Linked DNA regions of Homo sapiens: regions 1, 2 and 4 are each linked to region 3. Evidence: promoter capture Hi-C in 16 types of primary human blood cells and fetal thymus (Javierre and others, 2016). All regions are on one chromosome and are shown on one strand. Each heading gives the region's core, a stretch centred on a gene start or on the middle of the fragment in contact. The rest is flanking DNA. Distances are from core to core; before and after follow the strand shown.

Evidence for each region. The method cuts DNA at HindIII sites, captures the fragments that hold promoters and counts their contacts. A CHiCAGO score of 5 or more calls a contact.
Region 1: a fragment that was not itself captured here is called in contact with the fragment with the promoter of FYN in region 3 in 3 of 17 cell types (non-activated CD4 T cells, naive CD4 T cells and activated CD4 T cells); the score reaches 9.3 in non-activated CD4 T cells.
Region 2: a contact is called between a fragment that was not itself captured here and the fragment with the promoter of FYN in region 3, in 2 of 17 cell types (total CD4 T cells and activated CD4 T cells). The highest score is 5.9, in total CD4 T cells.
Region 4: a fragment that was not itself captured here is called in contact with the fragment with the promoter of FYN in region 3 in 2 of 17 cell types (non-activated CD4 T cells and activated CD4 T cells); the score reaches 6.6 in non-activated CD4 T cells.

Annotation. Positions count from the first base shown.
Region 1 is chr6:111,475,947-111,481,970 of GRCh38, forward strand. The region is part of intron 1 of REV3L (REV3 like, DNA directed polymerase zeta catalytic subunit); the gene reads right to left. Among named protein-coding and RNA genes, the nearest start is that of REV3L, 4.3 kb to the right of the region's middle. RefSeq lists enhancers at 1,206-2,098, 2,696-3,420. The HindIII fragment of the contact is 2,284 bases long and covers 2,825-5,108 here.
Region 2 is chr6:111,495,124-111,500,907 of GRCh38, forward strand. It overlaps TRAF3IP2-AS1 and the pseudogene LOC107986520. Among named protein-coding and RNA genes, the nearest start is that of REV3L, 15 kb to the left of the region's middle. The HindIII fragment of the contact is 231 bases long and covers 3,547-3,777 here.
Region 3 is chr6:111,870,121-111,875,553 of GRCh38, forward strand. FYN (FYN proto-oncogene, Src family tyrosine kinase) reads right to left here and starts at 3,332. Exons shown (of 14, transcript NM_002037.5): 1 at 2,848-3,332. It overlaps LOC102724646 (a long non-coding RNA gene), which reads left to right and starts at 3,332. Exons shown (of 3, transcript NR_168402.1): 1 at 3,332-3,570. RefSeq lists silencers at 2,452-2,851, 3,002-3,251, 3,372-3,461 and an enhancer at 2,904-3,403. The HindIII fragment of the contact is 15,284 bases long and covers 1-5,433 here.
Region 4 is chr6:111,584,057-111,590,067 of GRCh38, forward strand. All of the region lies in intron 2 of TRAF3IP2 (TRAF3 interacting protein 2), which reads right to left. It also overlaps TRAF3IP2-AS1. Among named protein-coding and RNA genes, the nearest start is that of TRAF3IP2, 19 kb to the right of the region's middle. The HindIII fragment of the contact is 3,238 bases long and covers 2,538-5,775 here.

The DNA.
Region 1 (6,024 bases), core at 2,717-5,216, 390 kb before region 3:
TGTTTATTAAACAATTCTTCTTTTCCCTACTCATAAATGAAGGTGGGATCCATTTTCATATACAAGTTGAATACCCCTTATCTGAAATGCTTGGGACCAGAAGTGTTTCAGATTTTAGAATATTTGCACATACATGAGATATCCTGAGGATGGGACCAAACCTGAATGTAATTTTATATAATTTTAAATAATGTTACACATGAAACAAAGTTGTTTTGATTGTTTTTGAGACAGGGACTTGCTCTGTCACCCAGGCTGGAATGCAGTCATACAATCATGGCTCACTGCAGCCTTCACCTCCTGGGCTCAAGCGATCCTCCTGCCTCAGCCTCCCAAGTAGCTGGAACCACAAACGTGTACCACCCTGCCTGGCTAACTTTTGTATTTTTTTGTAGAGATAGCGTCTTTCCATGTTGCCCAGGCTGGTCTTGAACTCCTGGGCTGAAGCAATCCTCCCACCTTAGCCTCCCAAAGTGTTGGGATTACAGACATGAGCCACTGCATCCAGCCTGAAACGAAGTTTTGACTGCGACCCATCATGAGGTCAGGTGTGGAATTTTCTACTTGTGGCATCATGTTGGTGTTCAAAACATTTCAGATTTTGAAGGATTTCAGATTATGGAGTTTTAGATAAGGGATGCTCAACCTATATTAAGCTCTCATATATATTTAAGTTAATTCTAGTCTTTACTCTGTTTTAGTGCTGTCATGTGCCAAAACCATGTTACTTTTCAAAACATTTTAAAATTAAAACCACTTTACATACAAGTAAGAATAATACAACCAGAAATTACTGGCTTGCTTTAATTTATGAATCATTTTGCAATTTCTAAATGGAATTTATATAATTAAGTTCAATATGATCATCATGCAATCATGCATTTTGGTTGACACATATTTTGGAGACCATTACGAATCTCATGTCTCCCACTACATTTCTGGAACCATATCTAGAAAATCAATTTTTCCTTAATTTTGTACATGGTTTTTTTAAATTATAAAATCAGCACATGTTATCTGTAAAAAATCTGAAAATATAAAACATACCTTCCAGAGATAACCAACTTTTATACTTCGGTGTATTTTTTTCCACACTTTTAATAAGTGACTATTTTGTAAACTAATTTTTTCACATAATATGACAGCACTTTCCCATGTTATTACACATACTTCTACAACATGTTTTAAACACATCCTCCCAAATGAATATACCCAGTTTATGCAACCATTTGCCAATTGTTGAACACTTAGAGTTGTTCTCTGTGATGATTATCATCTATTTATTAATCCTTGCCACAAATGAGTTCCAAGAATTAATAGACGAGTTTCAAGCACTGTGGTAAGCATTAACTCTATAATGGTGAGGAAAAAGAAACACATTATCAGGATTTCTGGAGGTTACAATCTATTTGGAAAAACAGATGTTAATCTCCAACACATATGAAATTACAATGACAGCAAGTGCTATGAGGAGAGTTCATGGTGCTCTGAGAGTCTGTGATAGGGAAGCCTTCCCTGAGGAAAGATAAATCGAAGTTTAGGTGAAAGAAAAGTAAAAACATTCTCAGCAGGGGCAACGGCAGGTACAAAGCCCTCACTGTGGGAAGGAGCATGGCAAGAACAAGGGACTGAGATAAGGCCAACAAGGCTGGAACAAAAAGAGTAAGTCAAGAACATGGCTCAAGTCATGACTAGACAGAAAGGTAAGGGCCAGACTATGCAAGACCTTGTAAGACAGGCAGATGCCACCATATAAGACACAGAGTTCTGTCCATATCCTGAATGCAATGGAAAGCTACTGAAGCATATCAAACAGTAGGGTGATGTAATCAGGTTTGCATTTTTAAAAGATCCCTCTGATTACAGTGTAGGAAACAGATCAGAAGGGGACAAAGTAGATTGGGATAAACCAAGATTAGGAGGCTACTGTAGTAAACCTGACCAAAAATGCTAGTAGTTTAGGGTGGTGATGGATTATGAAAAGAAGTAGACGGATTCAAAAGACAACCAGATTTGCCAAAAGATTTATGCTCATAGATTAAAATCCCTAAAACTAGAATTACTGGGTCAAAAAAGAACACTTCAAGGATTCTAATATACATTGCCAAACTGCCCTGCAAAGAGCAGTTGTCTTCATCTGTCAATTACCTTGTAGCTGTTCCTCTATCTGAAATTTTAAGTTCCTTAAAAATTCCTTTAACATGACTAATCCATATTTCCTTCACGAAGTCTTCCCTGACTCCCCTTTTTGCCTGGATATAGAACATGTCTCCCAATGAATCCTTGCTTTGTCTTATACACATTTCTATAGTCCAGTCATACTGCATTTGACTTACGTTTACATGCCCATCATCTCTACTACATTGTGAGCTTCTGGAGAGTAAAGCTGTTCTTAAGGCACTTAAAGCTAAAACAACTTGCTACTCAGGGCTTCAAATACCTACTTTAAAAAAAGTGACCAATTTGTTTGTGATGAGTCATTACATCTCCATAGCGTTCCTGAAAATCTCTCCAATAATTGTAATCAAATAGGTGTTATATGATCTTAAAATATTTTTAAATAGCTTAGTAAAAAACAGACTATGAACAAAGCAGATTCTATTAGAGAAACTTTTGAACCTGAGTTGTTGATACACGCTAATTTTCAAAATTATTCTTATTGCAAATTTAACTCCAATTTACCAAAAAAAAAAAAAAAGGTTATTCTGGTAGTTTCTTATATTTAATTTTATAAAATATAAACAATGAGAATATATTTATAATTGGATAAGCATCTACATAAACTTATATAGCATTTCAGAATTATCAATTCCTTATGTTGAAAAGCTTGATTTCATGGCTAACAGTATCTAGAACAATCTACCAAAATATTCACTAAGCTAGAGGAAGTGGCAGAGTTCCTTAGAGTAATCTTAAAGACAAGCAGCTCCCTCTATAGTCTGTCTGGCCTACTTTGTTTAATTCCTTGCTTTGTGGACATCCCACACTCTTCTATTTACTCCTACTCTGCATCTCAGCAGGGAAGCTCTTTGAAAGGATAGTTCTGTTTAACCTGGTGCTGAGGAAACTGTGAGAGCTGTCTAAACTCAGCATGAAGTGAGTTACATCAAGCAACTAAGCAAAAGTCGAGATGTGGAAAATGGACAGCTTCCCAAGTCCACCTCAGTCAAATCCTTAAATGAAGCCTGATGATTTCATTTGTAGTGAATCCTCTGAGTGGTCACACCTATATTCAAATCTAAATGAAAAAACATTGTCCTATACTTTATTCACAACCTTTCTTCCCTCCATTAAAACAAGTTACCAAAATGTTGTTCTAAAAGAAAAAATTAACAATTTATTCTACAAATGATACTGCTCAATTTGATTATGTCAAAATAATGTTCAAGACATTTTAAAAACTAGTTAAAAAAATGGAGAGGAAATTTGTTTTTGTTTTTTAAAAAATTCCATAACTCAGATGAAGAAACTTTAAGTGATTCCCTTAGGAATCAATATCCTCAGTTGGCAAGGGATTAAATCAGTCAGGATTTACCATTCAAATCTGAATATCCCCCCCCGCCTTTTTTTTTTTTTTTTTTAAGACAGGCTCTTGCTCTGTTGCCCAGGCTGGAGTGCAGTGGCGTGATCTTGGCTCACTGCAGCCTCAACCTTCTGGGCTGAAGCGATTCTCCTGTCTCAGCTTTCCAAATAGCTAGTACTACAGGTGCACACCACCACGCCCAGCCAATTTTGTTTGTTTGTTTGTTTGTTTTGTACAGACTATGTCGCCCAGGCTGGTCTCCAACTCCTGGGTTCAAGCGATCCTCCTGCCTCTGTCTTCCAAAGTGTTGGGATTACAGGCATGAGCCACAGCACCCAGCCCTGAATATCCCTCTTTTTAAAAATACCTTTTCAAATTTCACCAACTTAAGACATGGGAGCTTTTAAACCCAAAACACTTTATTTCTTAAATTACTCAAGATACGTCCTCAAAACACAGAACAATCAAAAGTCAACTGGACTGTTTTCTAAAGCAGAAAAATGCTTTTCAGGCAATAATAGAAAAACTAAACTAGTAAAAGGGTATTAATCCAATCAGTTCAGAATTTGTAATATAATTTTGAAACGGCCACTTCATTTGAGAAAAAATATCTTTGGTTGCTATTTTTCAGGATCTCATTTGTAAAGCAAAGTCAATTTTAAAACATTTTCTCTCCAAACCAAAGTAAAGCATTAAGGACCTCCCAAAGTAATTCTTATATATGAAAAAAGTATGTTTATGCTATTTTATGTAGCATAGGTTTATCATGTGTTACACATTTTTATTACCTTATTTTACTTGTTAGTAAAGATATAAACTATAAAGATATAATACAAACCATGTTTATATCTTTGCATTATGTTTACATCTTTACTTTCAAATAAATCTGTCTTCATTAAAAATTCTAGCATTCAGAGTTTTACTAAGTCAGACTGGCCTCTCTTTTATATTAATAATTTTCAAGTTTTATTTTATTGGACTAGTTTTCCTTGGGGAGATAATTCAAAAGCAGGTAATTCTGCAGTTTTTGATTATGTTTAATTAATATTAATCTCACTGGGAGTTTCTGACGTGCTAATAAAAATGCTGGCTTGGTTTATGAAAAGTGTAAACTCTAAATGTATGCCAATGACTTCAAATTTTTTCTTGTTGAAACAAACATTTTGTTGGAAACTGTGAACTACATGGCAAATTCAATTTGATAATCCTTAACAATTTAAAATTTGACTTTCTCTGTATCAAGTTTTATGTCTTTCAATGTACATATAAAAAGTGTTACTTTTTAATTCATTTAAAATATAAATTTCAAAGTATGTACCAAAAAAAAAACCCCAATGGGGGTTTTTAGTCTTTGGTTTTTTCGTTTTTGTTTTTTTTTTTTTTTTTAAGGTGCTGGTAATCTATTGTGGGATGTCCATGAAGGATTAAATAGGAAATAGTTAATGTGTCTTTTAAAAAATATTCAGGAAAACAACAGTATATAATATTCTTTATTTTTTAAGGAACATTTCCTCACGTAATAGAATTACATTAGCTTACAGTGAAACTCATTTATTTCCACAAACGAAACTTTCCTATACAACAAAGCTTGACTATCTCTCAGGAAAACATATTTAATGACTTGTGTGGAGGAGAAAAAATTATGTGTGGAAAAGTAACTCAAACCATACAAGCTGTAATACACAGAAATGCCACAGTATATCCTATTAGCATGTCACTTTATGATTCGGAAATTTGGCTGAACAGGGCCATATCAACTTCACTATTTTATCCTTCCTCTGCATCTGAAGTGAGAACAGTGCATTACACTGAAATTCCAATTGGAAACAAAGACAGCACCACTATATTTAAAAGGGCAGAAAACCTATCTTATAGAACACTTCATCGCCTCGATTTCCCAGCCTCCAAAGTTTCAAGTGTTACACTTTCAACACGTTAAAAGCACTCAAATTCCCCATCTTTCAAGGTTCATATCAAAATCATATTCACTAGTTTAAATAGGAATATGCTACCAAATCTCACAACATTGACATTTTAACAAAGAGAATTCACATTAAAAGATAACTGCTTTAAAATGAGTGCTTGTGTTTGGGAAAGCGCTATTATCTTGGTAGTCCACAGAAACTGACTGTAGTAATAAGATGAATGGTGATGAGGGCAAGGAGCATCAAGTGGGAAATGCTATCTAAAATCCCATAGGGCAATTCATAGCTAGAGGGAAGAACAACCTTTCCTAAGATGCATTATTTCCTAGAACTCCATTATTTCATGGAAGCAGTTCAAAGCATGCAAAAAAGCAAAACCATTTTAAAACACCTAGTAAACTGGGCCTCTATCTTTTTTATATTATCATAAGCCCCAGGAGTTTTTGAGAACGTACCTTCTGTCACGGCTGTCTCCCCTTCCCATCCCTTCTTCAACATAGTTGTGTTTAAAAAATATATACCTGTACTTAAAACGCAATCCTACAGCCCAGCCTAGGAGCATTTCAAAATGTCTGT
Region 2 (5,784 bases), core at 2,412-4,911, 370 kb before region 3:
TTGTGTAAAGGTCAGCCTGTCAGGAAATAGCATGCTACTCTGTTCTTTTAAGATTATTTTTAAAACCTTTGAATATGTGTGTTTTTACACTTTAAAAAAAAAAAAGTAGTGAGAAACTATACCTAGTGGTCTCACCAGATGTTTTCAAATCAGAACTGGGGCAATCTAGTTGTAATTTATTTTCACAAATTTATGAGAATAAGAGCTGATATTTTTCTTGCTTGAATTAGCAGGTAATTTCATTCTCCATTCCTCTTTAGTGGGGAAAATCTAGCCTTTGGATGAAAATGTGAACCAGAGGTTCTTGCCAAGTCTGCAAAGCAGTATAAAGATTAGTTTTATGAATGAAGGAAAACACTACTCATTTTTCTTAGGAGGCTGCTTACTTCTGCATTTGTATAACATGTTTTTAGACTGAAAGCTCATAGAGAAAAGAGAAGGATCCTCATTCTAGAATATCTGCTCCCCTGTACTTAGCATATTCATAGTCTTTCAAGACTTAATTTATTAAAGATGTTAAAGACTTTGACACTTGGCTTACAGTCTTTCTCCTTCACCTGAATTCCTGCCCTCATCCTGAGTAAATTCATCACCCAAGTAGACAGCCCATCTAATACTGTTGGGAAGGGAAGGTTATACCGTGTTATGGATTAATCTCTACCTTATGCCAAAGTATGGTGTTATAATTCTCCTTTGCATACCCAAAATTAACAATAGGCTGAATCATTTGATTATCATTCCCTTTGACTCTAACATAGCTTTTATCCTTTCCTGTTTTGCTTTACAGTTTTGGGTCTAGTTCATCTGATAAGGTACATTTCTAATATTTTTTAAAATTAATATTTATTCAATCAAAAAGAGCATGTCTTAGACATCATGGGATGAAATGATAACTGAAGGAAAATAACTCCTAAAAATAGTCACCCTATTTAAAGAGGCTTTTGTAAATCAAAGTAGTCTCTAGTTGTAATTCAGGGCCAGAGGTCTTAGGCCCAGGTCCCTTGAGTTTTTTCATTCTTGAGTTTCCCAGCTTCTCCCTTCTGCTCTCAAAGATTGTCTAAAAACATACCCCTTTTTTCCCCTGTAGTAGCAGGGAAAACAGCACTATTCGGGTGGGGAATAGTGATGGGGCTTATTGGTATATATAGGTCATTTATTGAATAATAGTAGAGCATTCTGGTGTTTAAACTCTGCAGCCCAATTTCCCTACTTACCTGCTCCATAACTTGGGCAAATTACTTTCTGTGCCTCATTTTTCCTGTCTGTAATAAACAGATAATAATAGTAGTACCTACCTCTTAGTGTTGTTGTGAAGATTGAATTACATATATTAAATGAGTTAACACCTTAGACTGCTAAGCACTCAATAACAGTAAGCTATTCACAATTTAGAGGCAGCTTCTCCATTTCCTAAAATATACTTATTCATCAAGAAGAATGATGTAATAGTGAAAGGTAGGAGTTTTAAAAATTCCGTTGATTGGATGTAAAAAGTAGATTCTTAGAATTTCAAATAACCCAAGAAATTATTTATACCATTGGTTCTTAACCAGTAATATGCATCAGAATCATTTATGAGACGTTGTAAAGATACATTTATCTAGGCCCTTTCTTCTCATATCTACCAAGTCAGAATGCCCACAGGCAATTCCAGTGCAGTCTTCCTGTCAAGACCATTGAAATAATCCAAGTCTTTAGATTTTATAATGAAGAAATTGAGACTCAGAGAAAGTAAATGACTTGCCTAAGACCCCATAGAGTAAGTGAGATCCAGGTTACCTACCTCCTTGGTAAGCGATCTTCCTATTCTTCTGTGTTGCCACCAAATATATTAACTTTTAAAGAACCTAATATGAGAACTTATCCTTCTGTCAGTTATATCAGGAAGAATAATATAGGCTTTAAAACTTACTTCATTCAGCATTTAAATCAAAATAACAAAATTCCGGCCAGGTATGGTGGCTTACATCTGTAATCTCAGCACTTTGGGAGGCTGAGGTGGGAGAATCCCTTGAAGCCAGGAGTTTGAGACCAGCCTGGACAACATAGTGAGACTCTATCTCCATAAATAATAATAAAAAAACTAGCCAGGTGTGGTGGTGTGCACCTGTGGTCCCAGCTACTGGGGAGGCTGAGGTGGAAGGATTGCTTGAGCCCAGGAGATCAAGGCTGCAGTGAGCCATGATCACACCGCTGCACTCCAGCCTGGGAAACAGAGTGAGATCGTGTCAAAAAAAAATTTTTTTTTAATTTTTACAATTTATTCAGAGGACTATTGCACCTGTACAGAAGAACTTAAAGTGAATTTTGCTGTCTTTTTCATGAGGACATTAGTCTTTGCCACAATGCTTACTACTAATGAGTACAAGAAAACGCTGTGTGGGACAGAGTTGCTCGATCCAACCTCACAGATTGACAGGCAAACAAATGTTTTATAGGGCAAGGTAGCTGTTGGAATTAAACTTTTTAGGATTTTTGATAACAGAATATGTACTTCTCATAATTAGGGTTTTTTAAACATTTTTAAGGATTTTTAAACTTTTATAAAATCTCAGAATTTTCTAGTCTGTGAACAGTTCATGTAGAAAAATCAGTGGTTATTATGTACACTGTTATTGCAGCTTCGCTGAAAGATTAAAAATCTAAAAAATACAGTAAAAATAAGTTCTGAGTTTTTGTATTGATGTTGGGTGCTGTGATGTTATCTCTTTTAAAATGTGTTTTTCTTTTTCCATAATATAAAGGAATCAAAAAATACAACTTGTATGTGAACTTGTGCAAATGTGTGAAACAAATTAAGGTGACAGGGCAGAAGCAACAAAATGAAGCTCAAATGAAATCCACCTCTCAAAGCAGGTTCTATTTAATTTCTCTATATTTGCTATTATAAATTTTTTATTTTCATATATGTGTTTCTTTGCTAGAGATGATAATTGGATGCCAACCTAACTTCCAATTTTTAGGTGATTATTTTACCAACAAACCACTCACCTTGATGAGTGCACTGCATGGCCCCCGCTCCAAAGTCCACCATTCAGATCCTCATCAATATGTTATGACGACTGTTGCCTTTACTGTGTCTCTGCCTGATTCCATACCCTTTGCTCTACATTTCATCTCAGGTTCTGTCTTTTGGACCTTTTCACTTGATGCTTGTTCCTGGCATTTGAATCTCCATTCAACCTGATGATCTTTGATTTAGACTCACCATCCAGTTCCAAGCTGCCAGGATTTATTACCCTCTGATTTCAGCAGCTCAGAAATCCCTGGCACAGTCACAGGCTGGCTACCTCAAGGGACCAGCCCCAAACACTAGTGCTGTATTATAAACATCCATTTATTCATCTTTTTAACAGATTTTACTTATTGCCCACTATGTATAAGGCACTACAGAAGTTTCTGGGGATATAGAAGATTAGTGGCAGAAAGCTCTTAAGTCTCTTAAAATCTGGTAGGACAAATAATACAACTACATAATTATAATTTAAGATAGTATGTGTTCAACTACTAGAAGTTATATATACGAACAGGACAGTAATTAACAAAAGCTTCAAATAGATCCTTAAGTAATTAAGGAGCATAGGGTACGAGGATACGTTACCAATAACCTAGAGTGGTAGGTCACTGACAGGTGGCATCTTAACTAGATTTTGACGGTAAGATAGGGGAGACATCATGGAAGACAGATACTACAAAAACTGGAACCAACAAGAACAGGAAAAATGTTATGTTAAACCTTATTTATCCAGACTGACAGTGTAATGAGGAGTGGAAGAAAGCTTAGAAAAATTGGTTAGAACCAAGTTCTGGAAGGCTTTGAATGGTGAAGAGTTTAGAGTTGGCGAGCATGTATTGGACAGTCAGAAGGTTTTGAGCAGGAAATGAAATGATAATTGGCTTGATTTAGCAGTGGTATGTAGGAAGGATTTGGTGGTGAGGTGATATGCAGGCAGAGACTGTAAGCTAGTAATTTAAAGTAGGGGAGGGTCTGGAGATGACTTTCTTCATGTCATTAAATCTTGTTATTTGTGAGGTGCTGAGCTAGGTGCTGGGGAAAGAGTGAGAACTAGATCCTTGCCATGAGGGAGTTTTCAGTCTAGTGAGAGACTTGATATCTTAAAGCCTCCTTGAGGGGTCTCTATCCAAAATTTGGTACTCTGCTTCTGACTCTTGCCTGATTACTAGGTGATTAGATCCTCAGTTTACAATGGGCTGTGTTTCCTACCCTCTCAAACTGCTTTTCCATTTTTTGTGTCAGCTAAGGCAAAAATATTGCAACCACTTGTATATGGAGAAAAGCAATTTATTACTTAAAACAAGATAAGACATGAATACTGCACCAGATAAGGCAAAGAAGAAAATGACATGTGTCTTAAAGAGATAACTGAAGATGATGTGGAGAATGAATTGGAGGTTATGTTAGGGGCAAGAAAACTAGTTAAGAGGCTGTCGTAGTAATCTACCTGCTTAATTAAGAGGGCCTGAACTAAGACAATGTGAAAGAAAAGGAGTCCTTGGTGGCTACTTCCACCATAATCCTTTCTGTCTCTCCCTTGGTACAACGAAGGGATAGATAGGTGACTCTCATTTGGAATTGACTTTTGAACTGAGGGATTCAAAAACAACAAACACTCAGTTTACTTCAGACTTAGGGGTAATGCTCCTACTGTCAAGTAGTCTAGTTTCTGGTTATCTTTTTATTTGGAACATGGTTCTGCAGTCTTTAGTGAGCTTCCTGATAAATCTTTCTTTTGCATTAGTTAGACTGTTAGTTACTAGTGGTTACAGTATTAAAAACAACACAAAACAAAACAAAAACTACCCTAATTGACATTGTATGTGATATTTGAAGCACTTATGGATAACTAGGAGAAAACTGTTAGGGAGTTGGAAATATGGAACTAGAAGTGTGGTTCTCAAGGTGTGGTCACTGATGCAGCATCAGCATCACCTGGGAACTTACTAAAAATGAAAATTAACAGGTCCCATCCCAGACTTACTGAATAGGAAACTGGGAGTGAGGCCCCAGCAATCTGAATATTAACAAGCCGTCCAAGTGATTCTGATGCACACTGCAGTTTGAGGACCAACTGAACTAGAGCTTGAAATAGAGATTAGGAGTAGAAATAAAGATGTGTAAGTCAGATACATAACAGTCACTCTTGAGAGAATGAATAAACTCCCTAGAAGAGTGGAAGAGAGAAGATGAGCCCTTGAAGTAAATGGAACAATCAAAGAAATAAAAACTAGTGGAGTACAATAAAAGCGGGAGAAATTTAACAGTGGTATGAAATGACCTATAGTGTCAGGTGCTGTACAGAGGCCAGCATGGATGAGGATCATGCCAAAGCTGTAAGACTGACCATTAGGAGAATTTTGGTGTCAGTTAAAAGAGAAGTGGTACAGATAAGAGTAAATGCAAAGGAATACAAGCAAAAACTAAAGGATACTTTTTGCAGCAGTTTGGGAATACAACAAAGGGACTTAGAATAATATGGTCAGGATGAGGTTTTTCAGGGTAGATGCATCATTTAGGTTTTGCTGTATAACAAACACTCTAAAGTGGCTTAAGACAATAATTATTATTATAGCTCACATGTCTGAGGGTTGGCTCCTCCCAGCTGGGCTTGCTCATACATCAGCAGACCTACTGGGAGCTTTGCTCTAGGCTGGACACTTACCTATCATCCTCCTTCTGTGACTGTCCAGCTCACTTAGGCATATCTTTCTCATGAAGATGGAAGAAGTGTTGAAGAGGGCAAACAGAGGCTGGGCGCGGTGGCT
Region 3 (5,433 bases), core at 2,082-4,581:
CCCAGGCTCCCTTGCAATTAAATGTGGCCATATAACTAGCCCTCAAGTAAAGAATGTGAGAGGAAGTGATGGTGGCACTTCCAGGCTAAGGTATTTTAAAAGTGGGTGTGCCCCGTCTACTCTCTGTTGCCCCTTCTGTAAACTGAAACAGGTTACGATGATAAGCTATGGGATGGTGGAGCTACAAGATAGGGGTGTGGGACCCAGAGTCACTGCATGGAGGAAAGCCACCTACCGACCAGAAACATGAATTTTTGACTATTAAATGAGCAAGAATAAACGTCTATTGCTTTTGAGCCATTATATATTTGCAGGCCTATTTGTTACACCTGCTAACATTAGCCTAATTGATACAGGTGTTGAGCACATACCAAAGACCTAACTCACATTTGTTTAATGTTAAATGAAACAGAATACCCGCTAAGATAAAACTTGGTAGGAAACAAGATAAGTAAGATAAGGTTCCTTTTATCAATGTGCTGACCAATTAATGGTGGAAATAGACTCATGCGAAACATAATGCCTGCTGCCAAAGTTTGAAACCAAAACATGATGATTTGTTTGGAAAGGAGAAGATGGAAACGGCTTCACAGAGGAGATGACATTTGAGCTGGGCCCCAAAGGTTAAAAAGGACTTCGAGCAAGTCAGATGGGGTTGGAGATTCCAGACCCAGGAGAAAGCAGAGTGTGCATTTGCTCACATTCAACCTTATCATTAAGTCTCTTAAACTTGGTCAACAGAGTGTGAGTTTATGTGCTCTGGCTTTCCTTCCTGGGTCTGGCATCAAACAAACGACCCTTTGTTTTTACAGTACACTCATTAACCCTATTGCTTTTTTTATCGTAAAAAGTTCCACGATGAATGTTCTTAAAAAGTGTGTAAGTAAATATTTAATGAATCATAACTCTTTTCTAATAAAATTACTGAAGACTAAACCTACAGTTCTGTTACTTATAAAAATAGTCGAGGAGCCATACTTTTAGGAAAGAACAGGTTCAACTTAAGTTTTGACAATATCGATTAAGCATGTAATAGTCACTGGCTTACAAAACGGAACATTAAGCCCCCAGATTTACATTAACATTTCTTCCTTAAAGGGAACATCAAATGGTTTAGACTTCAGTCAAGATTCTCTACAGCCCCAGTTCATAGCCAAGTGGCCTCAAAGCCTCAGATAGTTAAACCACTTCCTCCAAAAGTCTGTGAGTCCCTTCATCTGAATACAGGGTACCCATGGAGCAGGGACTGGGGAAGAAGACAGTACATAGGGTGGAAAGTATTGCAGTTGCTTGGGTGGTGAGAAAGGAAGTAGGCGTCCCAAGACTACCTTGAAGCAGGCAAGAGGCAGTCTGCAGTGGTCTTCCAAATGCTAACTCTAGACCGTTTTATCCACGTCCCCAGGTATTTACTTCAATAAAAGGGTAAAACAACATCACTGGGCAGACAGGATTTCATTTCAAAAGACTTCAGTACAGTGCCCTCTTAGACTTGAGAGAAGAAGCCATTCAGGCTGCCTCCCTCTTATCAAATAACAATTTAATTCTGATTCAGAAACAAAATTCTTGTGACCCCCACACCAATCTACTCTACCCCAGCTCTTAGTACTTGTTCCCAAAAGGACAGGGGAAAGAACGAGGGGATGGGGAGGCTACCTTAAAAGTAAAGCAACTCTTAAGACTGCTGGGATAACTGTTCCCTTAAATCTAAGAAACACTGCAGCTGCCAGTCAACACTACCGGTCTCTGAACACAGCAAAATGCCGACACCTGCCACCCGGCATCCGGGGGTTCTTTTATTTTTTGGTAAATGTGGCAGGAAAGACTCAGAGAGATCAACTGCTTCATGGGAAAGAAAGGGAAGCCCCAGGGAAGAGAGACAAGAAGCATCGTGCCTATCCTAGGGTACTTTGTGTGTCTCCTCTCTATGCACTGAAAGGGCTCTTTGTGTCACACTCACACTCACACACCCGGCGAGTCTGTGTGATTTATTGGGGGAAGGAGGGGCAAGAAGGGTGATTTTATTATCCCTCTTCCCAGTGAGTCCCAGCACATCTCTGCTGGGCCCAAGCTCGGTGGCCTCCTTCTGGCCCAGTCCCCTCCGCCTGTGGCCGCAGAGATAACAGAGGGGAGGAGCCCAAACAAAAACAGCCATGGATCTAGGGAAGTAGAGAGGAAATCCAGCGAGGGAGCCGGAAAGGAAGGAGAAAAGAGCTGGAGGGAGCAGAGGGGTGGGGGACAGAGGAAGAGGAGGGAAGGCTCCAGCACAGGGGAAAGGGGAAGGGTGGGTGGGTGGTGGCACAGGAAGAGTGAAGGGGAGGATGGGGGAAGTGCAAGGGAGGTGCCAGAAATAGGCAGGAGGATGGGTTGGAGAAGGCGACCGCCGCCGAGGGAGGAGGCCGAGAGGTGGAGGAGTGGGGCAGGGGTTGGGTGGGGAGGGAAGCAGCACGGGGCATCAATTATTAAGTGATTACATCATCCCTGACATTAAAACAACACACACAGCCCCAGTCCCCGCGGGGGGCCCCAAAAGGAGGGCGGGGGCGGAGTCTGGGCCAGCCTCGCCCCCAAGCCAATTCCCATTTTCACCCGGCGCCCGCTTGCGGGCGAGGAAATGGGGTCCCCATCCCCGCGCTGCCTCGGGGCCGCACCCCGCAGGGGTGTCCTCCGGTGCAACCGCGGGAAGACCCCAAGCACCGACTCCCCGGCAGCCCCGCGGAGCGCCCTGGCGGCCAAGGGACCGCAGCACCGGGCCCTGCGGCGGGGGCGGCGTGCGCGGGGGCGCCGGCGGCCGGGCTTCTCCGCAGCATCCCCGAGGCCTCCCGCGACGCATCCCCGCCGCCTGCTTACCTGCGCGGCGCTGAGGCTCCGGAGCCCACTCACATGGTCCTCTCCCCGCCCTCCTCCGGCGCGGCCGAGGCGGCTCCGGGGGGTCCCCGGCGGGCCCGGGAGCCGGTGGGCCTTCCGAGAGCACCGAGGGGGCGGCGCCGGGGTGTCCCCGGCCCGGCGGCCGAATCCCTCCCTGGCGCGGGCGGCGGCCGCCGGGCGGTGCGGCGCGGGCGGCGGCTTTGTGTGCGCCCGGGCGGTCCTCGGTGCGCTGGGAGAAGCGCGGCGCGCCCGGGCGGGAGAGGACGCGCCGCTCGCACAACAACCTCGCCTCTACTCTCGCCGCCGGGCGGCGGGCGGGTCTCGAAGGCCTTCGGCTCGCGGCGACCCCTCCTCCTCGCCCGCGGCAGCCCCCTCCTCGCCGGCTCCGCTCCTGACAGATGGCGCAACTGCAACGACGCGCCGCCGCCACCAGCGCGGCTGCTCGCTGCTACTCTTGCTGATGCTCTGCCCCTCCAGCTCCGGAGGGGAGCGAGGAGGGGGCGGGGCGCGCCTCGAGAGTGACAGGCCCGGCTGCCCTATCAAAGAGCCCCTTGGGAGCTGCGAGCCGCAACCATTGGCGCCTGGGGCGTGGGCGGGACGGCAGTAGGTGGGGCCGCCGAGTGGGTTGAGCGTTACTGTGGCAGCGGGCATCCCAGGGTGCGTGCGGTGCAGGGTGTGCAAGAAAATGCGAGGTTGGAGGAGGAGGTCTGTGTGTTTTTAAGGATTGTGTGGAGTTGTGAGGTGGCGGAGTAGGGCGGGAGAAAGAGCGGAGAGTGTGAACTGCAGTTTCCGCTTTGCGGAAGGTTGCAGCTGCTGCTGCAGATTGGCACCTGCCATTCCCCCAAAACCATGGGAAACTGCCTCGAGACAGGGCTATCTTGCCTTTCTGGTGTCTTTTCATTTGAGGGTGAGAGGATGAAATGGAAAATTGGGCGGTGATAGCAGCGTTTTCTTTGATCAAACTGAAAAGAGTACGGAGCAAAGTAGAATCCTGTCCTGAAACGTGGAAACGCACAACAAATAACAATGAGGAGGAGAAGGAGATTAGGATCATTTTATCAGTCCCCTATTTCTGCGGACACTCATTTATATTTTTTTTCTAGCAAAAGTCTGGAGGAAGTATTACTGAAATAGGGGGAGGGGCCAAGCGGCGACTAAGGAACCTGAAATGACAGAGATTTGTTCGTACATTCCCCGCCCCACCCCCAAAAAACCTCGTTTAATTGTAGTCATTGGTTGTCTTTGGTTTCTCATAACATTCAAACTTCTCATGTTTTTTTCCCCTTCACTGAATCTGAGCTTTTGCTCATATTTCCCTTGATGAAATAATTGCCGGTTTAGTATACAGTTGGGAGTGCATCGGTCTTTATTTCCTATCCAGCTTTTCTATGGCAGGATGTAACTTCATAAAAAGAAACACTTTGGCTTCCTGATTTTCTTTATAGGTAATTCCTGTTTACTGAAAGTTCTGCTTTAAGGCATACTCAGAATCGCTCTCCTTAATGATTTTGGCAAGAACCCTACCTTCCCCCTCAGCAAATCTAATGTTCTAAGAAATTATAAGTGAATCAGCTTCTGCTTCTGTGCTCAAAATCTATAATATTGCCTTTCCGGCCCACTACTTGTTTTTACTGTAGTTTAAAAAAATCTGTCCCTTTTGCTGACTTTTTTCTTTTTGTACACACTACTTTTTAAGAAAAGTTGCTAACATTTATTAAATGATCTGCATCCTATGGAGGAGGAAACTGAGGAAAAGAAAAGTTAAGTAACTAACTCAAGGTGACAGTATACAGAGGTTACTGGATTTTTTTCCTTTTCCTTAAACAAAATGACAAATTAAACCATGTTTAAATTGTGTCTGGAAATTCCATAATCCCAAGAAATGGAACCATAGCTAGGACTAGGATATTTCCATACAAGAGAAAGCCAGCTTCATTTAGCCAAGAATTGCTTATCTCAAGAGCAGAGGCTCTTCGTCCTCAGGGCTAGTCCGCAATGGCTGCTCTGGGTTTATTTGGATTGGGATGCAGAGGCAGTTGGGTAGAGCAATGGTTCTCAAACTTTGACATGTATCAGAAATAACTGAAGGGGCTTGCTTAAACATGAATTGCTGTGTTTAACCACCTGAGGTTCTGATTTAGGGGGTTTGGGATGGTGCCCAAGAATTTGCACATTTAGCAAGTTCCCAGGTGATGTTGATACAGCCAATCTGGAGACAGCACCTTGAGGACCATAGTTCTAGAATTGGGCTGTCCGAGGAGGTAGCCACTAGCCACATGACTGTTAAGTACTTGAAATGTACTTCAGTATTGGAAATTTGGCTACTGCAAATTAGGATGTGCTGTAAATGTAAAAGATGTATTAGATATTTCAGATCAAGCATGAAAAATGGAATGTAAAGTATCCCATTTTAATATTGATTACATGTTAAAATGATAGTCTAAATGTACTGTGCTAAATAAAACATTATTAGAGTTAATTAAATTGTTTCTTTTATTTTTTAAATGCGTCTACTAGAAAATTTTAAATAACCTATGTGGCTCAAGTTATATCTCTATCGGGCAGCAC
Region 4 (6,011 bases), core at 2,907-5,406, 290 kb before region 3:
TTTTATTTGCTTTAAAAGGACTACCAAGCTCTAATCATAGGGTTTATTTCTTTTCCAGAAAGCGGATGTTGGTGCTGTTAATCAAAAGCCTTTGAATCAAGGTCATATGATTTCTAACAGATTATTTCCCTCACAACATGTCTTTGTCTCACAGCAACAAATCATATCATTAAAATCACCAAGGCATGTGGGCTAAGTGTTTGATTAGCTGTAACTTTCATTTCAGAAACGGCCACCTGTGGTAAAAAGTTATGCCAGTTTATGTGAGCAGATGAAAATGATACACCTCATCAATTTTTAAAATTAGGGTACTGACAATATAGTCCTCCATGCTGTCCTTTTATTGTTGAAAACAAAGGAAAACTGAGTATCAGTGGATCAGTAAGAAATGAGTGTTCCCTTTTGTAAGTGGAATCTGACCAGCTTTGTCTGGAATTTGACTGGTTGTATGGAAAAGGTTCCTAAATAGGCTGGACACGCCTGTAATCCTAGCACTTTGGGAGGCCTAGGTGGGTGGATCTCTTGAGCCCAGGAGTTTAAGACCAGCCTGAGCAACAAGGTGAAATCCCATCTCTACAAAAAAATACCAAAAAAAAAAAAGAAACAAGAAAAGTTGCTAAATAAAAACTATGTTTATCAAGTAAATGACCATCATTTCACTGCTAAAGTTTTAATCATTTTTTTCCAATTACTATGACGAAGGCTTGCCAATTTACTTGGGTACTATACATGTAAAATAATGGCTAACATTTATTGATCACTTGCTACATGTCAAGTACTGTTCTAAGTTCCATATTGAGAATTATAGAGTTCAATTTTCCATTTTCATAAAGAAGTTTAACTCAGAATAAAAATCCAGATTCCTCACCATGGCCCATCCAGCCTTCATCTTCTAGCACACCATTCTCTCCTTGCTCACTCTGCTAGGCCCCACTGACTTGCTTTTGGTATCTTAATGACATCAAGCTCCTTGCTTCCTTAGCTCCTTGCTTCCTTGACCTTCTCATCCTTTAGGTTTCAGCTCAGATGTCTACTTAAAGAGATTCTCTGGTCAACCTGTCTATTAATGTCTGTTCCAACAACCAGTTACTTCCCTTATAGCACTTATAATTTGTCATTCTGTTTCTGACTTCTACTTCTTATCCATCTCTCCAGTAGACTGTGAATTCCATGAAAACAAGGACGGTGTATAACTATTTGCTGAATAAATTGATAAGTGGATGGACAGGTTCTGTTTCCAAATTTCATTGACTCCCTTCTTTGCTTCCCTCCCAGGCCAAAAAAAAAAAAATGGCTTTTCCAAGGCTTCACATTACAAAGACTCTACTCATGATTAAGGCTCACTCCTTTCCCCAGGAAGTAGAGAACAGATTTCTTTTTATTCATTCAACAAATATTTATTGAACCTCGATGGCCAGGCACTTGGTGAACAAAGATAAATAGGATACAGTTCCCTTGGGATTAGCTCAAAATAAATGGAGAGAGAAAGAGAAAATCTATGTGTCTGTGGGTGTCTGTTTTTAAACACAAACCCACACTAGTTAGTGTGTGAGAAGGGGAGACATATGAGTCGACAGCCACCTACTTGAGAATCCCTGTTCAGAAATAGCTTCCCTGCGGACTTGTCCCCAATGCCTACAGTTCCATCAAGAGAGTTAATTCTGTAGGAGAGGGAAGGTGGATGATGTGATAGACAAATGATTTGCTAGCATGGTAACTCCTCAGTTCAGAGGCAGTGTTAATCACAAAGCAAAAATGAAAATCTTGCACAATCACAAATGGGCGCCCAGGACTGTATGTTATTTGTCAATCCTGTGATCTTCTTGGCCTGAGTACACACGATCTTCATGTTACTGAGCTTTTACCATTTGGAATATGTAAACCAAATCCTAAATGAGGTTTTCCATTTATCAGTCACAACATGCAACATTTTTCTTCCTTATTAAGAATTAAAAGAGTTTATGAGAGAGAAATAAAATCTGATTTTCAAGTTGTCAAAAAAAATCGTGATATAATGCAATCAGTTTAGCCAGGAAACAAAATGGCCAATATAAACTGTTGCAGGAACTCCCACAGCTGTAAGCAGCTGTCGTTCCTGAAAGGCAACTCCTTCTTTATCATTTCTTCCATCTGGTTTATTTTTTGTGCATGCATTCTAGCATACAAATAATCCCTCCCCTTTTTTTTTTTTGGTCCACAGGTACAATTGTACACATGTACCTGTAATTTTATTCTATTCAGTCTCCTTGGTAGAGAAAGCAATAATTTTATAATAAAATGAGGGCTCTCTAGACTTAATTCTCTCTCTTTTCCCAATATATTTGCATCATGAGTTTCATTTGATTGCACAGCCATGAACTCCATGCTGGCGACCTTCAGTGGAAGGATTCGGAGGCAGCAGGAGGCCGACTTCTCCAGGGGGTGGGGTGAGGAGAAAACGTAGACTTATTCCCTTTCTTATTTCCACCTACTTTGAAAACTTTTTTTTTTTACATGAAAGGGGCGACCAATAACCATTTTTGCTTTAACTTGCAAAAAGCTTAGATATGCCATTTGCATGGTGATCATTATTTATTTATATATTCATTAATGGGTAAGGAAGTAATGCTCTTCTAAAGCTGAGTAGAGCCACGTAGCCATGGTTTCCAACTGCACAAGCATCCCTTAGGTGAACAGCTCTTTTGAAGTGGTTTTGTTAGCAATTAAGTGCAGTTATAGCCCTGACATGAAACTAAGCATTTGTACACCTGCCATGAATGCTTAAAATCTGTGCCAGTGAGTGGGATCTGGAAGTAGAGGAGCACCCTGCAGAACTGGGCTACAGGATGCTTTTAAATAATAACAATAATAACTAAAAGCTGTTAGTATTGAGGGCTTACCACCAGCCAGCCACTTTCCTAGTGCCTTTAATACATTATCTCATTTAATCCTCACAGCAACCTTCGTGGGACTCATTGCTGCTGGAGGCCTCATAAATATTCTAGGGCTACAATGCCCTGCAAAAAACCCATCAGCACTGGCAACCCTGACCCTCTTCTCTGTGGTTAGATGGGAGCCAGGGCCAAGGGACATGCAAGGTGAATTGGGGCGAGCTTGCCTTCTATATGTGCTGTTTCCCTTTGTTCTTTTCAGTTTTTACTCATTTCTTAATTATAGAAGTAATACCTGTTTGCTATTTTTATTTTTATGTTTTCTATGTGTTTTTGTTTTTGTTTTTAAGACTGAGTCTCATTCTGTTGACCAGGCTGGAGTGCAGTGGCGCGATCTCAGCTCACTGCAACCTCCACCTTCCGGGTTCAAGTGATTCTCATGCCTCAGCCTCCCCGAGTAGCTGGGATTACAGGTGCCCACCACCATGGCTGGCTAATTTTTGTATTTTTAGTAGACAACATTTCACCATATTGGCCAGGCTGGTCTTGAACTCCTGACCTCAAGTGATCTGCCCTCCTCTGCCTCCCAAGGTGTTGGGATTACAGGTGTGAGCCACTGCACCCGGCCGTTTGCTATTTTTAAAAATCAACAAAAGTATATGAAATTAGAAGGAAAATATACCTGTCTCCTCTTAATTCCCTGCTCCCCTCCCCACCAAGATCACCACTAGATCCTTCTAGACTTAATATGTATATATAAACCTATATAGTTTTTAAAAAATAAACATGGATGGGATCATCACTGCAGCTCTTGCCTTTCAACTTAATCTTTTTGATGTCAGAATGTGTATTCAGTGCAACATGGGCCTAGTAGTCCATAGTATACATAAATCACAAATGACTTATCTGGCCCCTTATTGATAGGCATTGTAATTGTTTTTGTTTTTACTCTAATGCAACAATGCTTTAATAAACATTCTTGTTCTTGTATTTGTATATGCTTGTTTAATGTTTCTATAGGACAGATTCCTATAAGTGAAACTGCTGGGCCAAAGAGGAAGCACATATAAAACTGTGATAGTGAAATTGCCTTCTGGGAGATTGCACCAATTTACACTCCTATCAAGAGTGATTGGGAATATTCATTTCTCTCTAACTCCACTAACACTGGATGTTGTCCAAAGTTTTTATTTTTGCACAACTAATCAAGGAAAAGGTATCTTTAAGAATTTTGCACTTCTTAAATCTAATGATATTGAGCTTGGTTTAATTTTCATATTGGCTATTTGTGTATCTTCTGTGAATTATTCCCCTCTCCTATCCCCATTCTCTCCCCTCTGCCTTTCAACACCTCTTTTCGCCCCAAGGATCCTAGATGTCTCTCCCCAACCCCCTAACAGAAGGAAATAATACAGAGAGCAAGGGGATGGTGAAATGATGAAAGAAAGCAGGTCCTGGGGCAATAGGGACAAAAAGTGTTCCCAGTCAGGAGTGTTTGCCTTTTAAAGGAGCCTGCCCCAATGGGACAACGCTCACCTCCAAAGACTGGATTGCCAATGGCGCTGTTTCAGCTCCAACAACAGGAAAAGTATTTTCCGTGGGAAGTATTTTCCAGAAGGTCCTGGGACCTTCATTATAACATTGAGTCAGTGCTTTTTTTGTCTATCACAATGAGGCTTTCCCTTGTTAGTAGTCAGAGTCAGCTGCTTGGGACTGTATCACAAAGCCTTAAGTATTCACAGTTCTTCGCATTAATCTAAGGAGTTAATCGGAAGTGCAGTTAAAAACATATGTATGCAATGCTTGCCATAGCATTGCTTATTGGATCAGAAAACTGGAAACTATTTTAAATGTCCAACAATAAAGAATAGGTTCATAACAATTTGGTAGATGCGTCTGATGAAATACAATGAAGCAGTTTTAAATGATTCTGGAATAAGTACTCAATGTCACTGAAAACTATTTTAATTTTAGATTAAAAATATATGCAAAGAAAAAAACACTGAAAATTGATATGTCAAAACCCTAATAAGGAATTCTATTTGGGTGGCAGAAATATGAAAACTTTTTCTTTTCTTTTTTGAACTTCTGGGCATATTTTAATTTTGGGAGTGACCAAATATTATAATGATCAGAAAAATTATCTTTTTTTTTTTTTTTTTTGAGATGGAGTCTCACTGTGTCATCGCCCAGGTGCAGTCTCGGCTCACTGTAACCTCTGCCTCCCAGGTTCAGGCAATTCTTGTGCCTCAGTCTCCCGAGTAGCTGGGATTACAGGCGCCCGCCACAACAACTGGCTAATTCTTTTTGTATTTTTAGCAGAGACAGTGTTTCACCATGTTGGCCAGGCTAGTCTCAAACTTCTGATCTCAAGTGATCCACCCACCTTGGCCTCCCAAAGTGCTGGGATTACAAAGTGGGGTGAGCCACCGTGCCTGGTGAAAACTTACCTTTAAATACAGATAACAGAATGTTAAAAAGTAGTTTATGGTATTATTCTCACAAATTACTCCTTTTAAACCTGGCAATCACTGAGAAATACAGCCTTGACCTTGCCAACATTCAGTTCTCAGTGATTCATACTTAAGGGAATCCACCACCACACCCACCCTATGACTGGGCGCTTAGAGCAGGGGTGGCATCCATGCACTCCCACTCTGTTGACTTCCCAGCATTTATACACCACGTCCCAGTTTTAGGCATCAGAGGCTCTTTCTCCCGCTCCAGCCCAAGGCCCCATTCTCCTTACACCCTCCTGCTTCCCCAGCCCCTGCCCTCATTCCTGATCTCACACTCATTCTTACCTATTTCTTCCAAGCATCTTCTAAGTTACATTTCTCTATCTCCTCTTTGTTTTTTTCTTTTTTGAGTTATGAATTACTGTGTTGCTCTCTTCACTTTAGGAAGCTTTATACTTAGTATACATGTACTAATATGTAAATTATGGTTGATTACAGCATTTGTAATTATTTCTATAATTTATTTTAAAGCTGCGCATCAGGCCTTTGGTCAGGCACTTCTTACACTCTGAACTACTTTCTGTCCAGTGTTTATTTGCTAAGAAAAATATCAGGCCTCACAGCCCTGTGTTTCATCTGTAAAGCCCTTTTGTTATTTTCCAGTGGCCTCAGCGGAGATTTA